Regions from separate parts of the Homo sapiens genome. Here region 1 is linked to region 2. Evidence: promoter capture Hi-C in 16 types of primary human blood cells and fetal thymus (Javierre and others, 2016). All regions are on one chromosome and are shown on one strand. The core of a region is centred on a gene start or on the middle of the fragment in contact, and the rest is flanking DNA. Distances in the headings are between cores, read along the strand shown.

The links. Contacts are between HindIII fragments. The CHiCAGO score rates a contact against its expected background, and 5 or more counts as called.
Region 1: a contact is called between a fragment that was not itself captured here and the fragment with the promoter of TXNL4B in region 2, in 2 of 17 cell types (total CD8 T cells and naive CD8 T cells). The highest score is 5.5, in total CD8 T cells.

The regions. Positions count from the first base shown.
Region 1 is chr16:77,213,995-77,220,184 of GRCh38, reverse strand. No RefSeq gene overlaps it. Among named protein-coding and RNA genes, the nearest start is that of SYCE1L, 18 kb to the right of the region's middle. The HindIII fragment of the contact is 2,250 bases long and covers 2,903-5,152 here.
Region 2 is chr16:72,089,152-72,095,557 of GRCh38, reverse strand. TXNL4B (thioredoxin like 4B) reads left to right here and starts at 1,938. Exons shown (of 4, transcript NM_017853.3): 1 at 1,938-2,191; 2 at 4,772-4,940. The coding sequence starts at 4,809. It overlaps DHX38 (DEAH-box helicase 38), which reads right to left and starts at 1,711. Exons shown (of 27, transcript NM_014003.4): 1 at 1,507-1,711. RefSeq lists enhancers at 1,416-1,715, 1,776-1,825, 1,836-2,165. The HindIII fragment of the contact is 4,501 bases long and covers 1-2,404 here.

The DNA of each region.
Region 1 (6,190 bases), core at 2,778-5,277, 5.1 Mb before region 2:
ATTGTTCATTTCTCCACATGCCAACGAATTATTTTCCATTTTCTTTCATAATGAAAGCATTATACTCCCTTAAAAATTTAAATATCCATTCTCTAGGCCAAGAGTCCACAAACTATAGCCTACAGGTCAAATCTAGCCATTAGTAATTTTATAGGGCTTATAATCTATGAATGTTTTAATACTTTTAGATGGTTGCATTTTAAATGGTTATACAAGTATTTACATACTTTCAATTTCACCTCTTGGCTTGCAAAGTCTAAAATATTTACTATTTGGCCCGCTAAGAAAAACATTTCCTGACCTCTGCCTTCTCCTGGATTATTTACACAAATGACAATTATTTTCTAAGAATTTACACTGAACCAGATGCCTTATTAAGAATGGGGACCTGTTCAACTTTTAACAGGTATCAAAGAGGCCCTCAGGTTCTAATAGCTAAATATTTCTTAGTGTATCCCTTCCACATTTCGAGGTAGAATTCCATCAGCTTGATGTGGCAGGAAAGGTCTTAATCATCTTGTTTGTACATAGGTTTCTGGCCTTATCTTTTGTCATAAACTAAACACTGGATCAAAAGATTCTGATGTAGAGATTTATGTATCATACTCACAGTGCTCATGCCTTCTCGCTTTGCCATGACCTTCTTCAACAGGGAGTTTCTTTTGCTCTCTTCTTTGCTTGACTAATTCCTACTTGCCTTTAACAACGTAGTCAACATTACCTGCATTAGGATGTGCCTGCATGCCTCCCCACACTCTAGTATGTACCTGTGTCTTTGAACCCTTTGTCCTGGGTTGCCTTCCTCATTAGGCTATGAATTATCAATGACAGTATAGTTTTATTAAACAAACCCTGAAAAATTAGATACCTAAATAGACAGTCAAGTAAAGAAACATACGAAGAAAAATATTCCTAAAAATACATTTATTGTCCGGGCGTGGTGGCTCACGCCTGTAATTCCAGCACTTTGGGAGGCTGAGGTGGGTGGATCACCTGAGGTCAGGAGTTCAAGACCAGCCTGGCCAACATGGTGAAACCCCATCTCTACTAAAAATACAAAAAATTAGCTGGGCATGGTGGCAGGTGCCTGTAATCCCAGCAATTCGGGAGGCTGAGGCAGGAGAATTGCTTGAACCCAGGAGGCAGAGGTTGCAGTGAGCCGAGATAGTGCCACTGCACTCCAACCTGGGCAACAGAGTGAGACTCAGTCTCAAAAAAAAAAAATTACTGTAGCAACATTATTATCAGGTAAAATAGAATTCAAAGAGATATACAGAGGAGAAGAACACATAAAATAAAAATTAGGCCAGGTGCGGTGACTAACGCCTGTAATCCCCGCACTTTGGGAGGCCAAGGCAGGCGGATCACCTGAGGTCGGGAGTTGGAGAACAGCCCGACTAACATGGAGAAACCCTATCTCTTCTAAAAATACAAAATTAGCTGGGCATGGTGATGCATGCCTGTAATCCCAGCTACCCAGGAGGCTGAGGCAGGAGAATTGCTTGAACCCGGGAGGCGGAGGTTGTGGTCAACTGAGATCACACCATTGCGCTCCAGCCTAGGCAACAAGAGTGAAACGCTATCTCAAAAAAAAAAAAAAAAAAAACTAAACAGATAAAACAGACTCTTTTCTCCTTTAGAAGGCTCAATATAATGATACTAATTTCCTGCATGTTAATGTATATATTTCATTCAATACAAATATCAAATAATAATAGGGGTTTTTTGTTGTTGTTGCTGCTGTTTAATTTTTTTTGAAACAGAGTCTCACACTGCCACAAGGCTAGAGTGCAGTGGCGTGATCTCTGCTCACTGCAACCTCCGCCTCCTGGGTTCAAGTGATTCTCCTGCCTCAGCCTCCCTAGTAGCTGGGACTACAGGCTTGTGCCACCACATCCAGCTAATTTTTTGTATTTTTAGTAGAGACAGGGTTTCACCATGTTAGTCAGGATGGTCTTGATTTCCTGACCTCATAGTCTGCCTGCCTCTGCCCACCAAAGTGCTGGGATTACAGCTGTGAGCCACTGCGCCCAGTCAGGTTTTTTGTTTTTTTGTTTTTTTTTTTTTTTTGGAAATAGACAATATGATTCTAGAGTATGCATAGGAAAGAAACTACCCTTGAAAAATTCTGAAACAGTAGGAAAATATAGAGGAGGTCTCACCAAGTGAGTTTCATAATATTATTTAAGGGTATAATAATAAAAAGTTTGGTATTTGTGTATAAATAGGTAACTAGATAAAGGAATAGAATAAACAGTTCAGAAATTGACCAAAATAGACATGATTATTTGGTATATGGCGAGGATGGCATTGCAGTTGGGGGGATACATGTGCTATTCAGTAAATTCTCTCCAGATTATGTACAGACACAAAATAAATTCCAAATAGTTCAAATATAAACTAAATTATAAAAGCATTAGGGCCCGGGAGCAGTGGCTCACACCTATAATCCCAGCACTTTTGGAGGCTGAGGTGGGTGGATCACCTGAGGTCAGGAGTTTGAGACCAGCCTGGCCAACATGGTGAAACCCCGTCTCTATTAAAAATACAAAAATTAGCTGGATGGGATGGTGGGTGCCTGTAATCCCAGCTCCTCGGGACGCTGCTACAGAATTGCTTGAACCCAGGAGGCAGGGCTTGCGGTGCGCCGAGACTGCACCACTGTACTCCAGCCTAGGCAACAGAGCGAGACTCCATCTTACTAAATAAATAAATAAATAAATAAATGTATTAGAAACGGTGACTTAACATATGGTGGGCAGGAGGGTGGGCAAGTGGTCTCTTCAGGGCAGGGTCCTCGCTAGTGCTGTGGGCACCAGAAGGGGAAGAACAGCCATGTGCTCTCCTCTGGGTAGTAGGATACTGAAATTGGGATATTTTGGGGTGTATGTTTTTTGAAGCTTTGACTGTGATTTTTAAACAATAAAATGTTCTAAAAATATAAAGGTAACCACTGAGAAAGATATTTAATCTCAGAGTGGAAGAGAAATTTATAGGTAATGGGCATTTTAGATAATGTAGGTTTAATAAGACTTTAGAAATAAGAAGACACACGGAAAGTAAAACAGGCTTTCCAAAAATGAGGCACAAAATATAAAGACAATGACTCCAGAAAAGAAGGTCATTAAATGCCTACTGGCTTTCATAAGATACAATTGGAAGGAATCTTTATAACTCTTAAATAGGTCTGATCACAGAAGTAAAACATGACTGCACACACTTGGAAGAAATCAATTAATTTTAGCAGGGCATGGTGACTCACGCCTATAATCCCAGCACTTTGGGAGGCCAAGGTGGGTGGATCATTTGAAGTCAGGAGTTTGAGACCAGCCTGGCCAATATGGTGAAACCCTGTGTCTACTAAAACTACAAAAATTAGCCGGGCGTGTTGGTGGGCACCTGTAGTCCCAGCTACTTGGGTGGCTGAGACAGGAGAATCGCTTGAACCCGGGAGGTGGAGGTTGCAGGGAGCCGAGATTGTGCCACTGCACTCTAGCCTGGGCGACAGAGTGAGAGTCCATCTCAAAAAATAAATAAATAAAAATAAAAAAAGAGATAAATTAATTTCAGAGTTAACACCAAGGAAGGACTACAAGACAAAAAACAGGCACCTAGGCTATTCAAATCATCTCCATCTAATAATGACTTGATAATGAAAGGAAGAAGAATGGAACTAATGTAATCTTTGGGTAAATGTTACTCAAGATTCCAATGAGAAAGATGCTGGGTAGGATTACGGTGAGTAATAGGTCACAAAAACAGAGTTTGAGTTTTGTAGGAAAATGGAAAATGAAGTCTAGGTACTTGTGAATTTTGTAGGTATGGCAAATATGTTAATTCTGCCACTGACCAGTCCCTTAAAACAGCTGGTAGATCAGCAAATAGAATATGCACGGACCTCTCACTGTTCTACTCACTGGTTAGCATCACTGCTTAACAAGATCCTAGAATGGAGAAAAGTAAGAGCTCAATATCCAGGTTCCCAGGAAAAGGTGGCCTGGGATTGTATTCACCTGTACTTGATGTTTTGATTGCTGTCTGAAATCTAAATGAACACAAAATTGAGAGATCAAAAAAGAAATGGTGGATGCCTTTGATTCTCTGAAACGTAACATGCTACATGTCCTCAAAACTTTATGAACGGCCAGTCAGGGTGGCTCACGCCTGTAATCCCAGCACTTTGGGAGGCCAAGGCGGGTGGATCACTTGAGGTCAGGAGTTTGAGACCAGCCTGGCCAACATGGTGAAACCCCGTCACTACTAAAAATACGAAAATTAGCTGGGTGTGGAGGTGGGCGCCTGTAATCCCAGTGACTCGGGAGGGTGAGGCAGGAGAATCCCTTGAACTCAGGAGGTGGAGGTTGCAGTGAGCCGTGATCTCGCCATTGCACTCCAGCCTAGGCAACAAGAATGAAACTCCATCTCAAAAAAAAAAAAAAAAAGGGAATTTAAGTAACCTAACTGTGTAACCTGAAGTTACACAGCTAGTATGCAGCAGAGCTGGGATTCTAACAAACACAGTCTGGCCCTGGGTTCTGTTCTGCTAACTAGTGTGCTCTATTAGGTAGTAATATTATTATCCTCCGGGAGATTCTACTGCAGTCACTTTGGCCACTCTCTCTTCCATGCCTTGTCTAGCTTGCTACTCAGGATGTGCTATGTTTGCATCTCTTCGGGCCCCTCCTCTGACTCCTCTGTTTTTCAGTGGGTTTCTTTCTGGCTTACTTTTTTCAAGAATGTCCTGGCCGGGTGCGGTTGCTCACGCCTGTAATCCCAGCATTCTGGGAGGCCGAGGCGGGCGGATCACGAGGGCAGGAGATCGAGACCATCCTGGATAACACGGTAAAACCCCGTCTCTACTAAAAATACAGAAAAACATTAGCCGGGTGTGGTAGCGGGCACCTGTAGTCCCAGCTACTCTGGAGGCTGAGGCAGGACAATGGCGTGAACCTGGGAGCCGGAGCTTGCAGTGAGCCGAGATGGCGCCACTGCACTCCAGCCTGGGCGACAGAGCGAGACTCCGTCTCAAAAATAAATAAATAAATAAATAAAAATAATAATAATAATAAAAAGAATGTCCTTCCGCCTTTTGGCAACACTGAGCTCCCCCAGGCTCATTCACATTTGAACCTGAACTACAAGCCAAGAAGCTTGAGAATTATGGTAATTGAATGCAAGCCCTGAGAAAAGCTGTTACAGGAAGTGAGTGAAGACTTCCCAGGCAGCTGTCAATTATTTCAATGAAAGGAGAAGTAGCCCTGCCAGGAAGGTCAGTTGAGTCAGGAGAACACAGGGCAAATCAAAAGCCAAAGTCTCGCTCTGTCGCCCAGGCTGGAGTGTAGTGGCGCCATCTTGGCTCACTGCAACCTCCGCCTTCCGGGTTCAAGCAATTCTCTGCCACAGCCTCCTGAGTAGCTAGGATTCCAGACACCTGCCACCACCAAACCAAGGGGTGTCACCATCTTGGCAAGGCTGGTCTTGAACTCCTGACCTCGTGATCCACCCGCCTCAGCCTCCCAGAGTGCTGGGATTACAGGCGTGAGCCACAGCACCCAGCTGGTCACTGCGTTTTAGAGACATTAAGCAATTTGCCTGAGGTCATCCAGCTGGTGAACAGGGAAACCAGGACTCGAATCCTAGGTGCCCAGTGGTAAATCGGCAGAATATCCAGGCTGACCCCATTTGTGTGACACAGAGAGGATGACAAAGAGGATACTGAAGTTCCTTAGAGATTCCTGGAGACTGGCCTTAGCAAGTAGGTGGTGTCAGTGGGGCAGGGGACCACAGCCTGGGCCTGGAGTCAGCTCTGCCCGGATGCGAGTGGTGACTCGGGGACTAAAGCTCCCTGGGCCTCATCTGTGGACTTGGGATAATAATGGCAACAAACGTGAGACCCAACGTTTATTGAGGGCTTACTGTACAGATTCACTATCTCAATTTTCCTCATCGCTAAATTGGGAATAACAGCAAGAATAGCAGTGAGAATAATAAATGATAGATACCATTTATTGAGCATTTATGTTATAAAAATCTCTGTTCTGAGAGATATACACACCTTAGTGTTCCTCATCTGTAGCCTGGGAATAATAATAATAAATCATATGAACCACTTACTGATCACTTAATGGACAGAAGCCTCTGATCTAAGTGAGTCACACATCTCAGTTCCCATTCTCTAGGGACTGGGAAT
Region 2 (6,406 bases), core at 689-3,188:
CATAAATGTAACTGCTACATTGTATTATTTGCTATCCTCCTATATACTGTTGGTCCCTCACCCATTTTTTTACATGAGTTCTACCTCTTCCTCTCTTTAAACAACAGGTACAGCAGCACAGAGATGGGGCAGAAGGCTACCGTCCATGTTCTCCATACTTTAGTGGCTTTTCTTGGCCTAGCTGCGTTTTACAGAAAACAATTTACTCACAGCAGCCAAAATCAGTTTAATAACAATCCATGTTCACCAAAAATATTTATGAGAAACACCAGGTTAGGAAAAGGTGTTACTGAGAAGTATTTAAGTGGCTACAAGACTTCTGGCACTCAAGTTGGAACAAGCTCCTCTTTACCTCTCACTACACATCTGCCACTCATCAACATATATCAGTTCTGGATGCTTGGATAATTCCTCTCATTCCAACAAGTTAGCAAAGCAAAGGAGATGCCACCAGAATCCAGAATTGTTTACCAAACTCTAATTAAATGCACAGCTCTACAGAGTATTGCCAAACAGACTGGACACATAATATTAATGCAGAAACAAGAGTTACATTTTGAAAATGCCATCAGGCAGAACAGAAAAAAAGAAAGCTGCATATTGGTGACATCTGTGCGCATGTGAGGAAATCCACACAAGAAGGTAAAGATATACAGGCTCTACTCAATAGTTGTCTAAACTAGGAAAGGTACCCTGGACTGCCATTCTACGCAGTTGAGAGAACACTGGATGTGTTGTTGACTGCTGTAGCTCAATGTCTAGCAAAATAAGCGTTTGATAAATTAAAAAATGAATTAATTTAAACTTATTAAAGGAGGACAGGAACCCAAACATTTCTGGAGACAGCAAGGGAAGATTCCAGCAACACAGGACAAGGAGACAGCCAGAGAGAACTTCATTAGCTGCTGAGACGAACAAATAAGGAGCTAAAGAGCAAGATTCTTGAGAAGGATTAATGGCAAAGAAACTACAAGGCGTACGAGAAAGCCAGGGAAGAAAGAACCTGGATTCATTCATTCAACAATTATTCACTGAGGGTGTCCCTGAGCCAATTGCTGTTCTCGGCGATAGCAACAGAGAACAAGACAAAAATCCCCGCCCACCTGGAGCTGACATTCTAGTAGAAGAGATCGCCCACCAGATTGCCTGGTATAAATGACACTGTGAGAGAGCAGAGGAAGACACAAGGAGTCCTACTCGGGCTCGGTGACAGTCTGGGGTGGGTTAAAGCGGAGGCCTGGGAGAGGGACCAAGGCCACTCCAGGCAGCATCCCTGGATCTCAGCGAGGCCGCTCCAGGCAGCAGGATTTGACCAGAGCAAGGAGGAAGGCCAAGGCGGCCAGGACGGATGCAGCATCCCTGAGGTGAGTAAGGCAAGGTGGGTGACAGGGACGACAGAGGAACTCCCCAAACTGGGGCCCGGACCTGAGCAGGGGACCAATATCCGCCGCCTAGAGCCGCCATGATTACAGAAGGGCAGGCCAGGAAGGAAGAAGGGACTCTCACCTCACCAAGCGCGACTCTTGGGACCCTTCTGTCCCGGATTCTGGGGCGCCGGCGCTGCCACCCCTCGCTCAGACAGGCTCAAGGAGCCAAAATCCACACCTTGAAAGCGGCCATTATTGTCCCTTAATACTTTGCGCGCCCCCTCTATCCGCCCAAAGCTACCATAGAGAGCAGCCTGGAACACGCCCGATTCCTGGATCCAAGTGTGGAACGGTACGCCAACAGGCTCTCAAGGCCTCCTCTGGGGCTCTGATCAGACACTTCCGAGTCTCCTTGTGACCAATCACTCTTAGCCTAAGAGACTACATCCCGCCTCTAGTCTGGGGGCAGGAAAAGGAGGGGAAAAAGGTCGACCATCTTTAATACGGGCGGAGGTGACGCCTAGCTTCCGGTCAGAGCCGAGCAAGGTGGGCGGTGACTAGAAGCTCTTCCGTTTATTGGGCTGTTGAGCGGGGGCCGACCGACGGCCAGGAGTTTCTTTTCTGCGCTTGTGCGTTTTCTGTTCGGTTTCCTTCCCGCTAGCGGGGCCACGAGGGTTGCTAGGCAACAGCCCCTGGGTGACTTGGTCTTAGGGTCCTGTCCGGCTTGGGGCTGATGAAAGGAGCTGTCCGCGCCCGGGCTCTTCCGAGAAGTGGTTGCTGACAGCCACAAAGTGAAAGGGAGTGAGGCGGCGTGGACGAGTAAGGTAAGTGCTGGGGTCCCTTAGCGCTTGTGGGCCAGGAGCAGCGCAACACAGGTGACTTTAAATATGTATATCGGATATTTTGGAAAATGGAGATGCGCGCCCGGCTGTAAATAAAAATCACCCATGCGTTCACACGCAGAGATGACCACTGATTTCCAGTTGTTTTTCTGGAATACATTGTAGTAAGATTCTGTACAAAAGTGAGTTCAAGCTTTTTTTCTTTTTTTGGTGTTTCTGCAGTTGTGGCGCGCGCCTGAGGTTCCAGCTACTCGGGAGGCTGAGGCGGGAGGATTGCTTGAGCCTGGGGAGTTGAGACCAGCCTGGGCAACATAGCGAAACCCCGCCTCAGAAAAAGAGAGGGAGAGAGGAAAGCAGTGGAGTTATTGGTCAAAGAGTATGTCAGTTTTCTTTCCAGAAAGGTTTTGTGTCTGCATTCCAGCAGGAACTCCCTGTGCCTGCCCCTACCACTATCTTGTTTAATTTTTGCCAATTCAGTGACTTTGTAAACATATGTTTTAATTTGCTTTTCTTTGCTTACTGGTAAAGCTTAACTTTTTAGTTTATTTACTGTCCATTTGTACGTCTTCTTTTGGGAATTCTCTGTGGGTATCATTTACTATGGACATTTTCTTAGATGTGGTCTCAGTTTTCCTCTCCTGCTTCCAACGTTTGTCCAGTTGCACCCCTAGCCTCACCACTAACAACTTTGTTCTCCCCTTACTTTCTCCTTTCGATCAGTAACACGGAGGAACTGCTGTTTGTTTGAATTCTAGTGGGACAGATCCGTCTTCTCTTTGACCTTCCCTTTCATTGGTAATTTGTTCTGCTGCTCACATCTGATGACGTCCCTTTGGGCCATCAATGTCCCTGTTTAAAGTATGACCTATAGCTGGAACAATCTTATTTCCTATGTGAATTTTAGTTAAATAATTCCTTTTTTTTTTTTTGGAGACGGAGCTTCGCTCTTGTTGCCTTGCCCAGGCTGGAGTGCAGTGGAGCGATCCTAGCTCACTGCAACCTCCGCCTCCAGGGTTCAAGCAATTCTCCTGCCTCAGCCTCCTGAGTAGCTTGGATTACAGGTGGCATCTGCCACCACGCCCGGCTAATTTTTTGTATTTTTAGTAGAGACGGGGTTTCACCATGTTGGCCAGGCTGGTCTCGAATTCCTGGCCATAGGTGATCCACCCTCCTTGGCCTCCCAAAGTGCTGGGATTACAGGGGTGAGCCTGGCCTAATTCGTATCTTAAAATGTGACTTGTGACAAAAAAAATAGGAAAAGAAATCCTCCCTTTTCATATTTGGAACTGAATTCAAAATACCGACCATCTCAATGGAGTCTCTTATAGATGACCACAAAACTAAGCTTCTTTGTCAAAGAGTTTCTCAAAAATGAAATTTCTACCAATCATGAAAATAGATTATTGTAGTAGAAGGACCCCTGGACTAGAAATTTGGTGGCCTGTATTCTAGTCCTTGTCATTGTAGTAGAAAGTGCAACTGTAAGCAAGCTAGTTTGTAAAATGACGGGGTTGTATTAGGTCCCTTGTACCTCAGTATTTTATTATTTGTTTATGGTATTGTAGTTTTCACACACACTCTTAATTGATCTGTTTGCCGTGTAATGAGGTGCACCTAGTAAGGTGCACACGAAGAATCTTTAAGCCAGGACTTGTAATAATATAAAGTATACAATAAAGGACTGTTTAAAAAGTGTAACACATGCAAGAAATAATATGCTGCCATGACAGAGAATATGGATGTTCTCTATATAGAGATATGGGGCAATCTTCATAGGTTAGGTTTGAAATAATGAAAAGTGCTGAAGAGTAGATAAAGTGTGTGTGCTGAACATCTGCCATTGGTCCCTCCACAGCCATTCTTCATCCTCCTCTAGACTGCTCTGGGACAGGGAGGTTTGCCTGCCTCAACAGGCCCCTGCCCTCTGGTTCCAGTTGGAGTCAGCCGGTGGTTGCATGAGCAAAGGTCAGAGGGAGGGAGGAGAGTGGCTGCAACACCTAACAGCAGGCTGCCCTCCTATACACTGTCCTCTCCACTCACCTCTTTCTGCCACACAATTCTTATAACTGCTTCCTACCGTGGCTTCTTCCTCCCATGGCCTAGGGATGGGTACAGCATCCCGCTGTTACTAGCCCCAAAGTAGTACACTTTACCGTATTGTTTTTCTACACCTGCCTTAATTAAACTGCCTTCAAATTACCAAAGTTGAGAGTGTCATCGCTTTCCTGCTGGAACACTGATACAATAGGCTATCTTTTGGGGGTGGGGAGAGAGAGAAAAAAAATATCGGAACGCATATTTGTATTTTTTGGTGAATGCATAACAAAACTCTGAAAGATACATGAGAAACTAATGAAAGCAGTTATCTGGCCCGGGGGAGGGAACAATGAAAACTGGTTCCAAGGAGCAGGGACAAAGAGAGGGAAACTCCACAGTGTTACCTTTCTATGATGTTTCTTTCATACCATGTGAATACATTAGCTACTCTGTGAATTAATTTTTTTTAATGAGGGCTCACGCACTTAATCTAAACTGTCTTTAAACATTGCACCTTTATTTCAGGAGTGACAGTGAGGATTCACATTTGGGTTATTTCAAGATGAGCTTCCTACTGCCCAAGCTGACTAGCAAAAAGGAAGTAGACCAGGCGATAAAAAGTACTGCTGAGAAGGTGTTGGTTCTCAGGTTTGGGAGAGATGAAGATCCTGTCTGTCTGCAGCTAGATGATATTGTAAGTGAATGTCTAAAATAATTGGTTTTTATTAATAATCTGTATATTCTCACTTCAGCATCTGAGTAGTACATGAGAGGGAGTAGTCAGGGTTGGGTATATAGCTGTTCATTTGTTAGTTCACTAAGAGCTGATTGTGTGCCTGCCCTGAACCAAGCCCCCAAATCTGTGTGTGCTGAATCTGTCTTGGATGTCCTTACCCACTAGAAGCTGTCAATGCTGTTTCACCAACAAGGTGATGGAAGAGCAGAAAACTATTAACAAGCATCTGTGAACACTATCTTTTCAGTGCTCGCAATAGTGGGATAATAGTAGCCCCATTTCCCAGTAGGAAAAAAAAAACCAGAGAGGTCAAGTAATTTCCCACAGGTGCAGATCCACTATATTGCAGAGTTGAGATTTGAACTCAGTTTTCTGTAGCTGCAAATAATCTTTTCTAGTGTGCTGCCTCCAGTATGTGCCTGATGCAGAGAGAGACCTAACCCAGAACTAAGACCTCTTACCGCCATTTCTACTGCTACCATCCCGTGTAAGAGCTGAGCGTACAAATCCTCATTTCCGTGGTTACAATGAGGGTGTGATGTGTTAGCTTGGGGAAAAAAGGACCAGAGGATTCTACCCTCAGTCATAAGCAGGAGGAAATACCACAGAGGTCAGTGATGTAGACACTGAAGCCACACTGCCAAAGTTCAAACCCCAGCCCTACTGCTCAGGAGCTGTGTGACCTGGGGCAAATTACTTTACCTTCCTGTGCCTCAGTTTCCCTATCTATAAAATGGGGACTCTGATAGCATATACCTTATAAGAATGATGTAAGGATTAAATGAGTTAACAAATGTTAAGCACTTAGGACAGTTACCACATAGTAATGTTATATAAGTGTCTGCTACTAATTATCGTGGTTTTCATTTCTGGGAGGATTGGGAGGAAGGAGACGTTAGGGAATTTCAGTATCCACATAACATATTTCTAAGTTGTGTTGTTTTAAATGAGCATGGGCTACTTTTATAAAAGCATTCAAAGAAAGAAATTAAAGGAAGAAATAGATTCACACAGTTTTCCCCAAGGATTTGTATGCTCAGCTCTTAACACGGGATGGCAGCAGTAGAAATGGCGGGTAGAGGTCTTAGTTCTGGGTTAGGTCTCTCTCCACAATGAATAGACAGGAATACTCCCATGCTGTCACCCTCCTAAACTCACACAGTTTTCCCCAAGGTCCCCTTCTAACCTCACACAGTTTTCCCCAAGGTCCCTTCCTAACCTCATACAGTTTTCCCCAAGATTCCCTCCTAACCCCGTTGCAGTGAATGAGACTCTGGAGGATGGGGTTATGCTTTGTCTAATGTGGGAGCCACATGGGCTGCATTGTTGGCCCAGGAGTTTTTTCAAACAAAACACTCTGTTGTAGTAACAAGTTTCACAGAAGAAACATTAAGCTGCCTCTCATATTGTAACCTTTGTCTCTC